Regions from separate parts of the Homo sapiens genome. Here region 2 is linked to region 1. The links are contacts of gene promoters, found by promoter capture Hi-C in human tissues and cell types (Jung and others, 2019). All regions are on one chromosome and are shown on one strand. Each heading gives the region's core, a stretch centred on a gene start or on the middle of the fragment in contact. The rest is flanking DNA. Distances are from core to core; before and after follow the strand shown.

Evidence for each region. The method cuts DNA at HindIII sites, captures the fragments that hold promoters and counts their contacts. A contact is called where the count stands out against the background at its distance.
Region 2: a contact is called between a fragment that was not itself captured here and the fragment with the promoter of ENPP1 in region 1, in 1 of the 25 tissues and cell types used here (IMR-90 fibroblasts).

Annotation. Positions count from the first base shown.
Region 1 is chr6:131,806,162-131,809,658 of GRCh38, reverse strand. ENPP1 (ectonucleotide pyrophosphatase/phosphodiesterase 1) reads right to left here and starts at 1,639. Exons shown (of 25, transcript NM_006208.3): 1 at 1,384-1,639. The coding sequence starts at 1,623. The HindIII fragment of the contact is 10,154 bases long and covers 1-3,497 here.
Region 2 is chr6:132,502,681-132,506,177 of GRCh38, reverse strand. STX7 (syntaxin 7) reads left to right here. Exons shown (of 10, transcript NM_003569.3): 2 at 2,590-2,732. The coding sequence starts at 2,648. Among named protein-coding and RNA genes, the nearest start is that of STX7, 8.7 kb to the left of the region's middle. The HindIII fragment of the contact is 6,888 bases long and covers 1-3,497 here.

The DNA.
Region 1 (3,497 bases), core at 390-2,889:
GAAACACCTCAAGGTATTAATACTAAACAATTTAAGTGATCAGGTTGTAAAAGCTAAGGTCTTCCATTAACAAAATTTTTAAAAGGTGACTCAAGAGACTAAGTTCTCATCAATATTGTGTTATTATAGACTCAAAACAGTGTTACAAGATGCAAAATTTTATCTTGAGATGCAAACATCATGTGGCTTGGGGTACTTATTCTGTGAAACTAAGGCTTCTTTTTAAGTACTAAGCATACGGCACCATCTCTTAAGTCTAGGAAGATTGATTCCTCAAAGTATTATAGCATCTCCATGATGTCCCAAATATAGTGAAAATGGAAATGCATACAAAATGAAAGGAGACTTGAAAAATTAGAAATTTTTCTACAAAGCATTATTCAATCATATGTAAGGGGATATATTTTAGGGTACACTATACATAGAAATCTGTGATTTCCATATAATACAATAAAAATGATTCTATTTCCTTGCTGTTTTCAATTTACTTCCCTACCTACATTCTTCAGCTTGATTTTCACAATAATCCCATGCAATGCACAAGGGAGTTGATGTTGTCCCATTTTCACACATTAGAAATTGAGGTTTAGGGACAGTTACGCAAGGCCTCAGCAAATAATAACAGCCAGGAATCCAGGCCTTCTCTCAATCAGCACTTCCCACCATGAATTCAGAATAAAAACCAACCCCCACATTTCATGAAGTTGACTGTGGGTCCTGCAAATGTCATAGCAAAATAGCAGAGGAGTAATAGGTAGCTTTTGTTAGCAACACAAACCGTGTAGCCTCTGGTTAGAAGAGTGGGCAAAGAATCATAAAGGTTTCTTCAGTCACATAATGTGAACATCCATGGAATTTCTGAGCACCTGCAAGGAAATTCCAAAACGGAGCGAAAGGGAAAAAGTGTTCCGTAGAGTTCCTAATAAAACTTAAAGAGCTCCGCTAACTCTTCAACTGCAATCAGTTAACCCAAGTGAAGTCATGTATACTGCGCCCAGAGCCCCCTAAAAGAAGCAACACATTGATGCACCTTCTTAAGACCAACAACTTTCGCGTTTGACATTTTTCTCCTCTAAAAACCCGTACTCTCCTGGGGCAGGGGGTCGAGTATTTCTAAGGATGACCGTTTTGAACAGCCTGCTTTCACAGGCATCCATAATTCAAGTGAGAGTGAACCATCCTGCCCTGGCAAGGTACCTGGCAGGGGCGGCTGTGTAGGGCACTTGCAAAGGCTGCGGAGGAGAGCGCGCGGGCGAAGAAGCACTCCCGGACCATGCCTCTCTCCGGTGCCCGGTGCTGACTGCGCTGAGAGCGCAGGAGCTCGGCGCCGCCCTCCCCGTACTCCCAGCCCTCCCGGGCGCCGGGGCCTGGCCGCGGACCTACCAGCGAGAGTACTTTATAGGTGTTGGGGTCCTTGGCAGTGCGGGCGCGCGCCGCCTTCTCCAGCGGCTCCTCCCCCACGTCCATAGGGGCCAGCAAGGACGCGGCCGCCTGCGGGTCCCCGGGCGCCTCGGCAGCGTGGCTGCGGCCCCGATCGCGGCCGTTCCCCGCCGGGCCCTCCCGGGGAGCGCGCCCGCCCTCGCCGCCGCGGCTCCCGCCCCCCGCGCAGCCGTCGCGCTCCATCGTGGCCCCGGCCGCTCCGGCCCCGCTGCCCGGCCGCGCCTTTAATAGGCCCCGCGCCGCCCGCCCCGCCCCGCCCCTCCCCGCCGCGCCCGCCCCTCGCGGTCAGATCCTTGGCTCCCCGCCCTACACCCGGCTCTCGCAGTCAGGGCAAAGCGACTCAACGCCCCGGATTATTTGGCTTCCTGTCTGATTTCGGGCACTCTGTGTGTCGGTTATTTTGGGTCCCTTACGTGGGCGTGTCTTAAACTTCCCCCCAAGCCGTCCCCTCCCCGCGCCCCGGCCACCCTCCCGACACTTGCAGGAATCGCCCTGCGTGGCCTCGCGGCGCGGGCTGGGCTGGAATTGCAGCGTGTGGTCTGCAGAGGGCATGAGATCATGGGGCCCCAAAATAGAGCGGGGAGGAGGAGAAGGATGCAGCCGCCGATGCCGGTCCGGCTTCTCAAAGGCGGGAGAGAGTGGAGTCTTGGGGTCGACCTGTGAGTTTCTGGATGGAAATGCAAATGAACCATGGAGGAAGGCGACTTTCTGTTTCTCCCCCTCTGCGCCCCGTCCCCCACTACCTACGGTACTCTGAGAGAGAAATCGTCCACTTAAAATACGTGGGTTCACATGTACTGAACACACGTAAGGGATATTTCGATTCCCACGGTTTTATGTGGTTTCTGGAGTCTTCTCGCTATTGTTTGTATGTATATTTGCTTATTTTTCTAGACTTTCTGTATTGAAGGTTTCAGGAGTTGGCGTTGCCCTCTCCTGAGGTTGACACTGATACCTAGCTATATCAAAAGTGTTAATGCAATCTGAAATACTTTGATAAGCCTTATTTTTCAACTAGGACGCTAACAGTGAGCTGATTCTTGGTGGGTTTTGTTTTACCTTTGATTCTGGAACTTGTACATTTTCTGGCTCATCACTTAGCAAAATCACCAGTGTGTAGTGAAGTGAGACAGAGGGAAACCAGTGACTTCGAACTACTTTGCAATACCCAGGACTGACTTCAGGTACCAAGGAAAACAATTAATTTTCAATACATTTTGAATACATGAATATATACAAGTGTTTACAAATGAGAATGAATGTTTAACAAATATAAAATGCATGTTATCCCTTTAAAATAGTCAACTTGGGATGCTCTTCATTTATACTGACTCATCCATCCACCCATCCATTTATTCATCAAGTAATGAATCCTTCAACTCAATCTTTTGGCCTCCAACTATGCATACCATATAAAAAATGAATTAAAATGTATCTTTCCTTAAGTGTGGTGGAAGCGGGGGTGGGGGGGTAGGACCAACTCGTAAACAAAATAATTAAAACCTAAGTCATATATGCAGAATAGAGTCACACATAGGATATTGATACAGGAGATAGAAATTATTTAGGCAGATAGTATGAGCAAAAGAGCCCTCGGCAGAACTTACCTTCTAACAAAAAGCAGCCCAAGAAATCACTTCCTTTCTAACAAAGAGCAACCTGGAAGATTGGGCTGCAAACATAGGTAAGGAAACTGGAAGCTTGCACGGGAGATGCCGGCAGCGGCACAGACAGAAGGGGCTACTGGGGCCAGGCATGTCCACCATGGGGGTTCCACCTCCCCTCTTTTTTACCACATGCACAGTAAGAAGGAAATAAGCAACACGGAGTAGCTACCTGCCTATATAGTAGAAGATTGGGGCCGGGGCTGCCAGACACTTAAGCCCTATGCAGATGACACACCTGGTCCTAACCGGGTTTTCATGCCATATGCACGAAACCGGGTTTTCCCTCCTTATGTAGATCAGACACCGCCTCCCCACTAGCTCATCTATAAAAACCCCTGCATTTCACCACGTATTGCAACCCATTTTTTGGGACCCCTCTCTGTAGCAGAG
Region 2 (3,497 bases), core at 326-2,825, 700 kb before region 1:
GTCCAGAAGAGTTTTCCCTATATTTTCTTTTAGTATTTTAATCGTTTTAGGTATTACTTTTAAGTCTTTAATCCATCTTGAGTCGATTTTTTTTTTTATATGTTGACAGATAAGGGTCCAGTTTCACTCTTCCGCATGGGGCGATCCAATTTTCCCAGCACCATGTATTGAAAAGGGCGTCCTTTCCTCAGTGTATGTTTTTGTCAACTTTGTCAAAAAGATCAATTGACTGTAGATATGTGACTTTACTTCTGACTTCTCTATTCCATTCCATTGTTCTATGTGTCTGTTTTTATATGAATATCATGCTGTTTTAGTTACTATACCCTTTTAGTATAATTTGAGGTCAGGCAATGAGATGCCTCCAGCTTTGTTCTTTTTCTTAAAATTGCTTTGGCTATTCAAAACCTGTGTTTTTTTTTTTTTTTTTTTTTTTTTAAGTGACTTGGAGATGCATTTAAAATTGCATGGTTTCAAGGATGTTCCGGATGGTGTTGGTGTCATTGAATCCCCATGTCTACTCTTGTTCTGTCTGGGCCCAAGTCCAAGGCTACCTGGAAGGAAGTTTATTCCTGTCTCCCCACTGTAGTGGTCCAGCTGTCTGACTTTAGGTTTGAATTTACCCTTTAATGAAATTGCTTTTGGATCCATCTCTAGGATTTGGTGAGACCCAGAGAGCCCAGAATAGATCAGCTGTACCTGAGAGGGAAGTTGGAGAATATCTAAAAGCCACCAGGACTTTCAGCGTGGCCAGGCACATTCAAAGTGCACCAGAGTTCCAGGCATAGAACCAGTACTGTTCTAATGGTCTCAACAGTTCAGCTGTTGTACTTCCTGCCAACACTGTCCCTTAGAGCAAAGACACATACTTCACTGTGGCTTCTTCTCTACCAGAAATCTTCTGTGGCATTAGTTCTATGTGGTAGCAAGCATGGATAGCCTTGGCATCAGAACCCTGGGACTGAATCTCACCTCCACCTGTGGGTGGGTTGGGTTACCATTACTTAATCATAATAAGCCCGCTGTTTGCTCATCATTAAAACAAGAATAATGCCACTTAATTGAAGGAGGTTGTGAAAAAATTAGTCTGTGAAATACTTTTTGTGTCGCAGATGTGCGAGAAATGTTAGGCCATTCCTCTCTTTCCCTTTATGTTGTTTTCCCCTTGTCCCAGCTGTGAATCATCTGATCCAGGGTTGGCCAGGAACCTTCCCTTCCTTTTGTAAATACCATACTGCATGTGGCCTTTCCACGTGCTCTGGGTCTCTCCACCCCAGCCTTCACGTCCTTGCCTTTGTTGTTCTGCATACTGGTCATAACCAAGCATCCAAATCCTATGTTTCTATTTCATAAATTCTTTCCAGACAAGGATGATGGTCATTTTTTCTTTTTGTAGCCCTTCTCATTTTAGCCTAGCACGTGATCTTTTATGGATTTGTGGGGTTTTTTGTTGGTTTGCATTATTAACTTTATCCTTCCTCCTAAATGACAAACTTGATTTGAGCAGATACTGTGTCAGTGTGTTTTGTTTTGTTTGCATCTCCCAGGTGCTTAGTTTAATGCTGGGCATGTACCAGGCTCTTAGTAGAGAGCTAGCTTACAAATTGACCACCAACAATTTTGCAGTATTCCAGTGCATATTCATGGAAAAGATGGGGTGGCGGTAGTTGAAATTCTTTGCTGTGCGCAGTTCTGTATGCAGGGACATTCCTTTTCAACCTTCTTTCCAAACCCTGATTGGAGTGGTGTGGATTGAAGAGGTAGAGAATGTCATCTCACCTGCCTCCTGTGGCAGTATCTCAGTGTCTCTTCTATTCTGAGATGCTGGCTGCTGAAAGGGGAGAGTCATTCGTTCTCCTTCCTCTGTCAGGAAGGTTTGATAAACATTTTATATGACATTTGCTTCGCAGTAGTTGGCTCTGCTATTTCAGATTTAACCTTTTCCATTAAAATTAGAGCCCTATTAATCATACATTCCTGAGCAGGTCCTGTGTGTGTGTTAAATTAGATATTAAGGTTGGTACAAAAGTAATTGCCATTTTTACCATTACTTTTAATGGCAAAAACCACAATTAAAAGTAATGGTAAAAACTGCAATTACTTTTGCACAACCTAATACAGTGAAATTTCTGGGGATAGCCTGAAGTCTGTGTTCCATTTAATAAATATTTAAATGCCTGTTTGTGCTAAGAGTTGTTTTAAATATTGGAGAAAGATAAATAAGCATGTGGGCCCTGCCTTATAATTGTTTGGAGTTTAGTTAAGGAAAAAATATGTAAACAACTAAAATTATATACAGGTAAGGGATTTAATAATTTTTCTTGAAGAGATCAAAGACGTTTTCAAAGGAAATATGCAATTTGAACCTTATTTTAATTGTTTGATGTGTTTAACATGACTCTGTCCTTTGAAGTCCAGTTTTTTTTTTTTTAGTAGACATGAGAGTTTTGCTATTTGATGTGTCACTTTGCCAGATTTCAACTCTATTAGATTAATCAAGTTTGTCCTTGTAACTTCACAGATTGTTAATTTGGAAAATGTAAGCCAGTAACTTAAAAAATATATCTGTGTGACTTTTATATTATTTAGGTGACTGCTTAGAAAACTGCACAGCATCTGATGAAATTAGCGAATAAGAACATCAACCATGTCTTACACTCCAGGAGTTGGTGGTGACCCCGCCCAGTTGGCCCAGAGGATCTCTTCTAACATCCAGAAGATCACACAGTGTTGTGAGTTGAGTTTTAAATGGACTTCACTATTTGTATCCACTCTTAACTGAACTTGGTGGAGGTTCATAAAAGGACAACTCTGCTGATTGAGAGAGGGAGGAGCATTCCTCTAACAACAGGTTTTAAAGGGCTCGAACTCTTTAGAATGAATGCAAGAGAATTATATTTGAGATAACACTTACTGCATTTTTCTATAGGAAGTCAGGGCCAGGCACATAATACATTATTTCATTAAATAAAATAAAGATTTAAAAGGATAATGGATTCTTATATCTGCTTTAAAGCTATCTGGTTCTAGATGAGATGATGAGACCTGATGACTCAGTCTCATAGGTTTGGAACCAGGTAGCACTACCAAGGGCTTAAGGAACATAAAGTTTATTAAAAATAAAATCTGACTGGATATGGATTAGGTTAATCTTATGATGGGCAAGTATGTGGTACCTTATTAAGGAGCAAGAGGAACTAAGGAGAGGACGTTTTAATCTATTGAGGAAGGTATTTTAGAAAATCAGACCTGCATTCCCCACATATTCTTTTTTTTTTTTAGAGACAGCCTCACTCTGTCGCCCAGGCTGGAGTGCAGTGGTACGATCTTGGCTCACTGCAAGCTCCGCCTCCCAGGTTCACACCATTCTCCTGCCTCAGCCTCCCCAGTAGCTGGGACTACAGGCGCCCGCCACCACGCCCGGCTAATTTTTTGTATTTTTAGTAGAGACGGGGTTTCACCGTGTTAGCCAGGATGGTCTCGATCTCCTGACTTCG